Linked DNA regions of Homo sapiens: region 2 is linked to region 1. Evidence: promoter capture Hi-C in human tissues and cell types (Jung and others, 2019). All regions are on one chromosome and are shown on one strand. The core of a region is centred on a gene start or on the middle of the fragment in contact, and the rest is flanking DNA. Distances in the headings are between cores, read along the strand shown.

Region 1 (6,275 bases), core at 1,509-4,008:
AGAATCAAAACTGATGATGGTAGTATTAATATTGTTATTCTGAGATTATTATTATATGTTTAATGCAAACTAAAGCAAATTAGTAAATTGGGATATTCTAATTTCATCCTCCCTTTTGTCCTTGAGAACCAGAATTCTCTACATGAAAGAAAAGAGGTCCTAATGTAATATATGTTAAGTAAAAACTACAGTCCTGAAATTAAATTGGAAATAATATAAACTGATGAAAATATTATGAAGAATAATATTTCTCTAGAATATAAAAAAATGAAGTATTCTTTAGTAGCTCTGTCTATTGAAAAGGCCTAGAAACAGTTACCAACCTAGTAACAATGAATACTCCTAGTGCTCATATTGTTATCTTAAAATTTCAACAAAAGAAACTAGAGCTTCTGGCCAGGCGGGGTGGCTCATGCCTGTAATCCCAGCACTTTGGGAGGCCGAGGTGGGCAGATCACGAGGTCAAGAGATTGAGACTATCCTGGCCAACATGATGAAACCCCGTCTCTACTAAAAATACAAAAATTAGCTGGGTGTGGTGGCACGTGCCTATAATCCCACCTATTCAGGAGGCTGAGGCAGGAGAATCCCTTGAACCAGGGATGTGGAGGTTGCAGTGAGCCGAGATCGTGCCACTGCACTCTAGCCTGGTGACAGAGTGAGACTCCATCTGAAAGAAAAGAAAGAAAGAAAGAAGGAAAGAAGGAAAGAAGGAAAGAAAGAAAGAAAAAAAGAAAGAAAAAGAGAGAGAGAAGGAAGGAAGGAAAGAAAAAACAAAAAAACTAGAGCTTCTTGGAGAAATGGCTGATTCCAGGTTTGAGGCAGCAAATGTACAGATGTGCCTGGAACATCTTGTCATATCAGATAGCAAGGAAGCTATCAAAGACTTCTAGGGTCTTTGAAGCTCTTTGCACACTAGTGAGAGAGAGAGAGAGAGAAAAAAAAAAAGACTACTAGAATCTTATCAAAAGGAGCCAGGAGCCATATTGAAGAAGCTCCTACTGGCCAAAGATGGGACAATTTGAGCTCTAATATCGTAGATGGAAACCTATCAAATATATTTAAATTCATGAATTTATAATGATATTAAAGAAATCTAAGAATGACAGAGAATCAATTCCTTAACTTGAAAACTGGGTAATTTTTTTAAAAAAAAGCAGGTATTCATCGTGCCTTTCCTATCTCAGGGTAATCAAATAGTAGATGAGAGGAAGCATCTCCTTATCCACTTATGAACTAATAAATGAAAACAAAATTATTAGAATACCATGATTTTGCAAACTTCAATTAATTAATGAATCTAGGAATTGAGCATCGACGGCTGTTAACCTCAAAAAAGAGCAAACACCAGACATCATGATCATGTACCTCTTGAAGAAAAGAACACACAACCATCTATAATCTTACAAAAGACATCAAACTTCAGTCTGAGGAAGACCCTGGATCAGCTGCCAACTTGCTGTCAATACAGAGGACAGAGAAACATGCTGAATTGCCTCATGAATGTGCAACCCCCAGACTCTGGAAAACCTCACAGATCAAGGGCTTAAGTTATTTAACAAATAATTGTAAGGAAAAGACTGAAAAGGCAAATCAAATTAAAAAAAAAAAGAGTGGGGGGAGGGGTAAGGTGCACCCTTGGAAGATACCAAGAAAAACAAAAGCAGCAGAAGTGACTACATGAAAGTCAGGTTAGTGGTTACTTTTGGGAGGAGGGAGAAAGGGGGTTGTCATTGAGGTAGGGCACATGGAGAGGCTCCTGGGGTGGCTGGCAGAGTTCTATTTCTTGATCCAGGTGGTGATTACAAGGATGTTCCCTTTATAATAATTCACTAGTCTATATATCTATATATTTGTTTTTTGTGGTTTTCTGTATTTATGTTTTATTTTACAATTAAAAAATTTTTAAAAACACTCCTTAACCTGCAGTAAACAGTTTTTTTAAAAAAAACAAAAGAAGGTCCAAGTGAAGAGATCAGAAGCTATAAAATATTTCATATTGGGTGCAAACTAAATATAAAGCAAGCCAAAACCAGAAACACCTCCTCCCCCTCCCCTCCCCCCCCTCCCCTTTCCCCTTTTTTAATTTAAAGAACTTTGTAGGTATCTTCCAAACCAATGAGAGATTCTTAACACACACAAAGGGAGGATGTCAGAGGAACCATGGGGCTGAGTTGCACCACTGGAGGATGTCTGAAAAAAACTACATAGACAACCTTCCAGCACTAAAACTTTAGCCCCATGGTTCCGCTGACATCTTCATTTTACAGATTAGAAAACTGAGGCCCAGAGGCAGCCAGTGTCTCATGCACGCTCACGAAGCTAGCATCAGACCCCGACCTAAGGCCTAGGTCTCCCAGTGTAGGACTAAGACACGCACCAAGACAGTACCAGCCCGCTGACCGCCGCCTGCGAGGAGTTAACTGGGGCGGTGCAGGATAAGTGCGAGGGGGGCCCGGGTCTGGCGCTAGGTTTGGCTGCGGATTCTCCGCTCCGGACTCCGAGGCAGAAGGCGGGTGGGCGTGGCGGGAAGGGCAGCAGGTCCACTCCCCGAGCGCTATGCAAATGTCATGCAAATCAGTGCATGGGGGCTGGAGCGGGTGGTTTGAGTCCTGACCCCGTAGCGCCGCGCTCTCACTCGCTCTCCTCAGCGCGCGTCCGCTCTCCGCTCTCCCACTTGCTCTCTCTCTCGCCGGTTCGCTCACCCCCGCCCCGCCCCGCCCCGCCCCGCCCTGCCCAGTCCCGGACGCGCCTCGCGGGCTCCCCGCGCCGCCCGGTCGGCAGCAGGGCGCTGAGCGAGCTCGGAGCCCGCGCTGTGCGCCTGCGGCCGGGGCGCCCCGCCGAGCGCCGGTGCCCCGGCTCCCGGGCCGCCTTCGCCGCGCGGGTGAGTGAGCCCGCCCCATGCTTTTGTCCAGGCGCGGGCCCTGGAAGTCAAGGCTCCGAGGGTGGGAGTTCTGGGTGGGGGCTGGGACCCCCACCGTCTGTGCCTCCCGACTCCCCTAATGGAGAGGGGCCCCGGGGTGCGGCGAGGAGTCAGGGGCGTAAGGAGACGACCCCAGTGACGCCAGGCTGCACGAGTTTTCTTTTGGGGAGATGAAGTGCTTGGGGACACTGATGCGATTGCCTTTCTAGGAATCATCCGAAGGGGGTGCCTTTGATTTGAGGGGCGGAGGAGAAGCGGACCCTTCTCCCAGCTCCCAGACCCTCGCTAGAGGACTCGGTGACGGCCTCTGGGAAGGGGGTGCCACGTGAAGGTCCTTCCAGCCCAAATGTGATTCCGGGAAGGTAGGGCGGGGAAGGCGGCCCGCGAGTGCCAGACCTGGCCATCCCAGGCGAAGCTGGGGCGCGGGCTTTGCAGACTTGTTCCTACTCCATACTCCTCATTTAAGCTCCTTACCTCGCTCTGCCTCCTTCGCGTTAACTGGGGTCCCATTGTTGAGGGACCTTGTTCGCCGATGATTGCAGTTGGAAAGTTTTGGATAAACTTCTCAGGAGATGTGAGTTGTCAATGGTTGAGGTAGACCCCTCCCTGGAACTTATGGAACTAAAACCCTTCAAGACCCAAAGGACTGAATTTCTAGGAGTGGCATTGCAGATGTGAAGATGGGCTGATGGGGAAATGGTTTCAAGGATATATATTTTTTTTAGATTGGGGTGTGTGTGTTGGGGTGCGGGGCACTTTCTATTTCGTAGCCAGAAGGAGAAGACCCAGCTCTACTAGAGTCTAGAGGGAGTAAAATTAGCTGTTGTGATTCAGGGAGCTGGGTGGGTGTAGGGAAACACCTGGGCAGTGGGCATGATGCCAGACCTCAGGCCGTTGGTTTTTACCATCCCTCCTCTCCCCAAGTGCAAAGACCAGAGTATATGCAATGACCCGCCCACCCCACAGCCTTTGAGAGCCTGCCCTGGAGCTGCATCCCCCTTCCAAGAGAGGCTGTGTTCTTCTCCACCTGAATGGAATACTTTTTGTCAAAATGCACTTATCAATAAATTATTTCCAGATGGTGGGCTTAGGAGGACCATTTGGGGAACCCCGCCCACACTTCAAAGAATCAGGAATCAACAATGCAAGTCTCTGGGAGAAGTGTAGGTGCATCTGGTGACTTTACTAGGTTCCTACAAGGCATTTAGGGTTCTAATAGAACTGTTTTCTTTTCTCTTAAATTCTTGACCTCCTTCTCTCTTCCGTGATTCTCTTAGTCTCTTCCCCGCCTGCACACTGTGGGACTGTGGAGGATGATGCTGCTGGCACCACAGTGCTCTAGGGCAGCATGGAATTTTCCTTCCTGCCCAGAGTGAGGTTACCCCTTTTTCTCCCACTCTCAGTGGGCCAGGAGCCTTGGGTCTGGGAGGAACCTGAGCAGTTGGTCCTGGGTCCGGAGTGGTTGGACTCTGGATGCTGGATTGGGTAGCGGGTACTCTGGGGACATGCACAAGAGCTTTTTTTGCCAAGATGTGCAGGTCTGTCTCATTGTTCACTGATGATACAAAGGATGCTGGACCTCATTTGCAGCTAAGCATGAGCTTGGAGAACCACCCCACAGTGGGGAAGCATTTATGCTGGTTTATCTCCCATGTTCAGTTTCTTTTGTGTAATAACTGGCTAGCTGAGGAGGAGGGTAGCTGCAGCATTGTAGATGTTTCCTTGTCTTATTTTTATTTTTATTTTTTATTTTGAGACAGGGTCTGGCTCTGTTGCCCAGGCTGGAGTACAGTGGCGTGATCTCAGCTCACTGCAACCTTGACCTACCAGGCTCAAGGAATCCTCCACCTCAGCCTCCTGAGTAGCAGGGACTACAGGTGTGTGCCACCACACCTGGCTAGTTTTTTGGATTTTTTGTAGAGATGGGGTCCTACCATGTTGTCCATACTAGTCTAATGGGCTCAAGTGATCGCCCACCTCTGCCTCCCAAAGTGCTGGGTTACAGGCATGAGCCACTGCACCCAGCCAGAGTAGTTGCTGTTTGTGTGAGGTTTGCTCACCCCTTCATCAGGGGCTGCTTCCCCAGGGGCCAGATCTTAGAAAACATATGCAGAGCAGACTAGGCCTTGGAACATTCCTAGGCTAACTGGTAAGGCCAGGTGGCCCCACCTGCTGCCTGAAAATGGTAGACAGACAGCTACAGTCACTGCAGAGGAGGGGCTCCTGGCTGGCAGGTGGCGGGGGTAATCTGCTGAGAAGGCTTGTCAGAGAAGGAGGTGACCCAGATGGTGCAGAGGGGAGAGGCCTTTGAGTTCCAAGGGTGGGGAAAGGTTCTGGGTCTCTGGCTAGGGAGATCTTTGCTGGTCTCAGAGGCATAGATTGTGAATGCGCTGGGGTCACCATATACTCAGTGTCTTTGAGAATGACCCCTTGCTTTTATCCTCAAAATATAAGATGAGCCTAGAGTTTGAAACACAACTAGTTGGCTTGTCTGTCTTTTAGGAAGTTCATAAGGTGGGGTGGGGGTTTCAGAATGCAGCCTTGCTTGGGGACATGGGTACAGTGTCCCATGAGTATGGGGTGTCTTATTTAGTATCTTTCTGAGAACAATACTTGGGAGTCTGGAAATATAAGCCTACTTGGAAGCCCAGCTGCACCTCTCACAGCTCAAACCAACCCACACAGGCTGGGAGATTGTTCATTCTTAAAAGCTTCCTGTCCTGTCTTTTCAGCAAATGTAGTAAAATTTAGAAACAACACTTAAAAAGTATCCTTTCCCAACAAAAGACAATGTCCTCGCTCAACTTGGCCAGCAGAGGGTGCATGCAGAGGACATGAGGCAGGGCCATTTGCATGGAAAATGTCCATGTGGATGCTTAGGCCTGAGCAGGGTCTATTGGGTGGCCTGAGTGCTCAGAATCAAGGAACCGTCCAGCAGTGAGCCAGAGTGGGACAGAACGATGTCACTGTGATGAGCTCCTATGCCATGTGACTTCTATCTCTTCCCTGTGCTCCCCCAGCCTCCTACCTTACAAGCAGGCAGACATGGTTGTGCGGGGAAGCAGTGCCCATACAAGCCACGCCCCTCTCCCACCTGCACCATTCTGCAGATGGATTCTCTTTATTCTTCCTTGAGTTTTGGCTGCACACTTTTCCATTCGTTTGATGCCAACAGGTTGAGCAAATGCATTCCCCTCACAAACTCAAGGTGGGTGGACCTCCGTATTTGCACTGCGGGCCAACAGGTGCATCCCTCCTCCTTGTTGCATGCACCTGGTGTGTGAGGGCTGCAGCCCCCATGAAATTTACTGACAGCCAGCCCAGTCAGCTGGGGCAGGAGGAGAGCCAGCAA
Region 2 (6,275 bases), core at 1,289-3,788, 400 kb before region 1:
ATTTGCTTAGAGCTTCTGGGAAACAGAAGTCAATGTCTGTGTTTCTCCCTCCTTCTCCTGCTACCCCTATCACTTGGGGAAGAGTGAAGCATGTTGCTCTGTTACAACTGGCAGCTGTCTTAGAACCATGAAGGGAAACAGCCTTGCAAGGAAGTTCTCGGCCAAACAGTGAGATCTCAGCAGAGGAGTGAGATAGAAAGAATCCTGAGTGCCTGAAGATGGGCTCGCACTGATTCATCAATCTTGAAGCTCACATCATTGTCTCTGAATGACTACTTAAAATGTGAAATAATACATTTCCTTGATATTTAAGCAAATTTTACTGTCTTCTGTTTCTTGAAGCCCAAAGCATTCTGATACCAAGAGTCACACCCTCATGATGTTTAGTGTGATTGTTCATTCACTTATTGAGCACTCGTATTCCAGACATTGGGTTAGACACGGGTGATAAAAGATCAAGGCCACGGTCTAGTGAGGGGGACAAACACATTCCATATTCTGTTAATGTTAATAAAATGTGAAAAATACTATAAGAGACGTATACTGTGGGCTGACAGTAGAGGAGCACTTGGTCCAACTTGGCAGAGATAGGGTTAGGGAAAAGCATGGATGGCTTCTGGGTGGCAACACCTGGACAGCACTTGAAAGACAACAGGATTTCATCAGGCAAAGAAGGTGTAGTTTGCAAGGGCATTTTAATCAGAGGAAATAGCTTAAGCAAAGGCCTGGAGGTTTAAAGCAGCAGCATAAAATGAGGGATTGTAAGAAGCCATAGTAGGAGATAGGGAGATACCAGATCACAAAGGGCAAAAGATGCATTGGGGAACCACTGGAGGGGAGTGATAGCTCAGATTTGCTTTTAACTACGAAGTGAGTGTCTAGACTGAGACCCTCCCAGATATACAGGCATTTATCTCATTGCAAAGGGGAGACCAAGCCAGCCTTGATCTCATAGAACAAAAACCAACTAGCACATTGCAGACTTCTCACCAACTGATGGTCTCTGCCTCCGCTTTCTCCTCCATTTTGTTCCCTCTCCCATCTTTTTCACACAAACTATTCAAATGTCTGGGTCAAAGAAGATAAAGATCATAATATGATAATATATGAAAAGTTCTGAGTATAGCATATGATACATAGCAGATCCAGAATGTATGCTAGTCTCTTTCCACTTCCTCTGGGTTCAGACAAGATAAACTGGCAGTCACAACAAGTAGTTGCTGTCTGATTAGAGAAACTAAGACTGCGAAACTTCATGCTAAAATCACACACTGTTCTTGACAGATGAGCTGCAGTTCAGCAGCTGTCTGGAGAAGCACACACTCAATGCTAAGCCTTAAAAGGCCACTCTCCTCGCACTTGCCCTCCTCAAGTTAAGTGATGTAATAAAAAATCTCACCAAGTCATTAATATAAATATTTTCAGACTTTAAATAAGGTGTTTTTGCATTTTATTTCCAGCCTATGAGCCTGGATGCACTTTATTCCCTGCAGCACTGGCAACACACTCATTACCCTCCTGTGGGGAAGGAATGGTCATCCAGGAGCCAGCAAGTCAAGCAGATGAGAAACAGAACTAACCAAGCCAGGAGTCAGCCCAGACAGCCCCGGGATATTGACTCTGAGTGGCCAAATTCCTTCCATTTGAACCACAAATGCTGATAAAATATTTTCAGGAACACAGTGAGGGAATGTACTTCACTCACTTCCCAAAATGTAGACTTGAAGAGGTCAAATCCTATTTAATCCAGGCTGAGAAAATAATGCCCAACTTTATCCCGGAGCTAAATTTAGACATAAACTGAGATCTGGCCCTTGGCAAGTTAATTTAGATGAGCTAATGGTTGTTCCTGGCATAAGGGATACACTCAATAAATGGTAACTATTATTGTTACTGCAAAAATGGAGTGTCTGTTGGATGTTCTCATCTAGTCCTCCCACACATCCTAAAATCGGCTGTGCCAATCACTTGCACATCTGGGAACAAAGCTCCACATGAGGCTAAGGATGAGGCAGCTCTTTCTTTGGGAGCCCCTCTCTGGGAGGAGGCAGGCTTCCCTGTGGGAGCCCTTCTCTTGGGGAGAAGACCACCACCTAGCTATGCTGGTATGTGCTAGGTGGGCCTGACCTTGAGCTTAGGAGGAGGACTAGGCACCCCATTTTGCCCCTTCTCCCCTCTTCCAGCAGCAGCCTCTGCAATGGGGCTCAGACAGGTAAGGGGCCATGCAGGGAGCCAGGCTGGGCACATCCACAAGGAGAAGCTTGGCAGTGTTTCCAGCTTCCAGACCCTACAGGATATACTCTGCAGGGCTTAGGAAGAACTTACTGAATGAAGAGCCCCATCACTCCTCAAGGCTGCCAGAGGACCAAGGTAAATGCCTGTGTTTAGATAGCATCCATTGTCCCTAAAAGTAGGTTAGAGGCCAGGCGTGGTGGCTCATGCCTGTAATCCCAGCACTTTGGGAGGCCAAGGTGGGTGGATCACCTGAGGTTGGTAGTTCAAGACCAGCCTGACCAACATGGAGAAACCCCATCTCTACTAAAAATACAAAATTAGCCAGGTGTGGTGGCACATGCCTGTAATCCCAGTTACTCAGGAGGCTGAGGCAGGAGAATCACTTGAACCCAGGAGGCAGAGGTTGTGGTGAGCCAAGATTGTGCCATTGCACTCAGCCTGGATAACAAGAGCAAAACTCCATCTCAAAAAAAAAAAAAAAAGAAAAATGTAGGGCAGAAATGCAACAACCAGCTAACACATGATAATGTTTTTAGTAACCTTCATAATCACTTCTTTCACTTTTCTGTGCCTTAAAACAAATTAAAATTAAAATTTCATTTAATTATCCATCCTTCTTCCAAAATGTCTTCGGGAATTGTTCCCACTCGTGTCCCACTGCCAATCCTCCTAACACGAAGGCCTTGGTGCTGCCTTTGCCCCCTGACATCCAGCCAGTCACTGGTCTCATTTTCTTCCCTTGAGTGTCTCGAGGGTTTGTCCCTTCCCTTTCTACTTTCACTACCACCTCATCTGTTCCCACTTGGATTAGTATAAAAGGACCAGAACCAGTTTCTTGCCTCCAAATCACTCTTTCCATTGCAAGGTGAAACTTGCTAACACCCCAGTTTTCAACAGTGAGTGCATTAAGGTAGCGTTCCTAGAAACCATTCAGCAGTAGGTGGTGCTCTTGTGTCAGCTCAGTGTTCACAGGTTTTGTTCTATTCTCAAGCAGCCCAGTGAGTACAGACTGTGTCACGGTCAACTATTTATTTGGCACTAAGTATCTCTGGTCAACACAGAGTAATTGAAGACACTGGTCCTAACCTCCAGAAATTTTCAATATAATTGGGGGAATGAGATCTTTGAGCACCTAGCTATAATGCTAGATGGCATGGAACAGGGACAATTTGAGGGGGATGGATAAGGGCTGCAGGAAATGCTCAGAGGGAGAAAGAGCACCTCCAACAGGGCAGAACAGAGAGAGTAGCATCTGAGCTGGACCTTCAGCTGGGGGAGGGTTTTAATAGGCACATATAGTGGAGCAGGCATTCCAAATGGGAGGAGTGTTGGCATGAACAAAGGCATGAAAAGGTGGGAATGTGCAAAGCACAGAAGAGAATGCCCTGAGGGATGGGAGCTGAATGCCCAAGTCCAGTCTCACTCTCCATTCTAGGGCCCTCATGTTTGTACCCCCTCTTGCCACCTCATGACAAGGTCACCTCCCCAGGGAAATCTGGGACAAGCTGGTCAACCCAATCTCTAAAGAGGATGGAGGAAACCAAACCCTCTTTTATCTCTCCACCAGAACGCATATGTTACAGAGTATATCTTCTCACCACATCAGCAGTTGTTCCTATAGCAGGACATTCTTATGCTAGAGAAAGCTTACTAAGGAGAGACTAGAGGTGAACAAACCAAGAGTGGGATTTCAAAGGGGCCATGGGATGGGGGACTGGGGGAAGAACCCTTCTGGGATTCCAGCTAGAGGCAGATTTCCTCCAAGAGATTAATATTCCTTTGCGTGTTTTTTTTCTTTTTTTTATTATACTTTAAGTTCTAGGGTACATGTGCACAATGTGCAGGTTTGATACATAGGTATACATGTGCCATGTTGTTTTACCACAGGTTTCCGACTCTTTACAAGATAAGAGTATGAGGCTTTTGCTCTCCTTGGGAATGACCTCAGGAAGAGCCATGGGATACAGGAATGGGGTTGAACAGTAGATACCCTTGAGTTGGGCTTTTCCCTGAGAAACAGTAACTACTACTGACCTTGGCACCAGAACACTTTAACTCAACATTTTCATACTGGAAAAATCTCTCTGTGCTCACATGTGAGAAGACATCCTCCTGTATTTATATATGAGATGGTGTCTCTCTCTATTCAAGTGAGAGAACATCATTCTCTGGGTGGGCAAACTCTTGGGGTTTCAGATCAACTAACTTGGGCTACAAAAACTAGTGCACCTACACATACAAAATCTCATTCTCACCTGTGCAAGTGGGACCAAAAGCTGCAGACTCCTCCCATTACCCCTCATCCACTTGAAAAACTGGTCCCAGGAAAGCTGCATTAAAGAGTTTAGAGCCCACGTCAAACGAAAATAGGCTGAAAGAACTCACAGAACTTTATCTGGTGAAGAAAACATGAGGAAGGTCCCCAAGCACTGTCCCCAAGTTATGGGAGAGCTGCCCTGCAGGGGAAGGAAGAGAGTAGTTCCCCAATGACCCTGGGAGACAGAGATGGGACTGCAGGGTGTAACTACAGGAGGGTAGATTCTGGCCTGCTGGAAGGAGGACTTTCTAACAACTGGGGCTACAGAACAGTGGAACAGGCTGCCTCACAAAGCTGTGGCTTCCTCAGCCCTGGAAATGCTCAGAAGAATCTGGAAAAATGCACATCTGGAAGGGAGTTCTGCCATGGGTAAGGGATTGGACCTGAATCAAAGACTTTAGGATTCTCAGATGCTCCTGGCAAGACCTGAACCATTTGCCAGAATCCAGTTTTCCTCGTGGTCCACTGGTTATTCCATGGACTTCTGACTCTCTGTTGTGCTCTGACTCCTGGTAACCCACATGGCATGAACACAGACCTCCTGCACTCCTCTCTGTAGAGCCTGTGCTCCAGCCACACCCAACTGCAGACATTCCCAGGATCCAGCCTGCATTTTGAGGCTGCTGTGCCTTTGCTCACACTCTTCCATCTCCCTGCATCCCAAACCCTGGCTAAACATTTCTCCATCTATGCTCCCATAGCACTAATAGACACCGTTGTGAACTTACCTGTGCAATGGCTATTTGTTTGCTGGTGCCCTCTGCTCCAACATGGCCAGGCCTGAATGTAGCTCATCTTCCAATTGCCCATCCCTGGCACAGTACTCGGCACAGTGATTGGCTTATCTTCAGCAAGTGTTCTCTAAGATCCTGCCAGACTGGTTACAGCTTCCATTTCCTTTTCTCCCTGCTAGCAGCTGACCTTGTGTCTAATACCCACTGATGAGGTCCTCCTCAAGATCCCTTCTTGGTTTCTCCAGCCACCAGGTTCCTCACCTCCATGCTCTGCTGCCACAGGCTGCCTACTTTCCACTCTGGCATCTTTGTTGTGGATGGGGCTGTATTCCCCATGCATGCCCCTCAAGAGAGCCTCCCCAGGCATCTATCCACTGCTGATTCCACTCATTTACATGGGCCAGCACAAGTCTATCTCTACAAATCTACCATTTGTTCCATGTGCTGAATGTCTTCAAGGCTCCAGCCATACTGGTAGATTTATGTACATTTTCTTTAACTCATACAATAATCCTAAGGCAGGTATTAAAATCTATATTTTACAGATAAAGAAATCAGTGTTCAGAGGGGGTGAACTGAACACAGTCACTCAGCTACAAGTGGCCCAGCAGGGATTCAAACCCAGGTTTCTCCAGTTTCAAAGCCAGTGCTCTCTCTGTCCCCCACAGGAGGCCTGAACTGTGCATGGGGCTCTTCCTTAACTCTGACCAAGGAAGGAAGCAGGAATGGAAAAGGAAGGCCATTCAACAAGTTCAGAGAGAACAGGTGCACAAAAGGTAAGGACAGGCCTGAGGAGATGCCAGGACAGGGACCAAGAAGGTCACAAGTGGGAAAGGGAGTAGAAGAGGAACAGGGAAAATGGTAGAAGGTAGAAAAAAGGAAGGAAAGCAGGTTCCTCAAAGCAAAATGCCTAGAAAGAAACCTTGGGAAAGCTTCCTACCCCAAACAGAGACTTTGTTTTATAAAGTCTGACAAATTCATCACCCCAG

The links. Contacts are between HindIII fragments. The study calls those that stand out against the background at their distance.
Region 2: a contact is called between a fragment that was not itself captured here and the fragment with the promoter of MYLK in region 1, in 1 of the 25 tissues and cell types used here (aorta).

The regions. Positions count from the first base shown.
Region 1 is chr3:123,880,815-123,887,089 of GRCh38, reverse strand. It overlaps MYLK (myosin light chain kinase), which reads left to right and starts at 2,758. Exons shown (of 34, transcript NM_053025.4): 1 at 2,758-2,884. It also overlaps a transcript of CCDC14 not described here. RefSeq lists a silencer at 2,719-2,878. The HindIII fragment of the contact is 8,771 bases long and covers 1-6,275 here.
Region 2 is chr3:124,278,822-124,285,096 of GRCh38, reverse strand. The region is part of intron 5 of KALRN (kalirin RhoGEF kinase); the gene reads right to left. Among named protein-coding and RNA genes, the nearest start is that of MIR6083, 92 kb to the left of the region's middle. The HindIII fragment of the contact is 5,025 bases long and covers 26-5,050 here.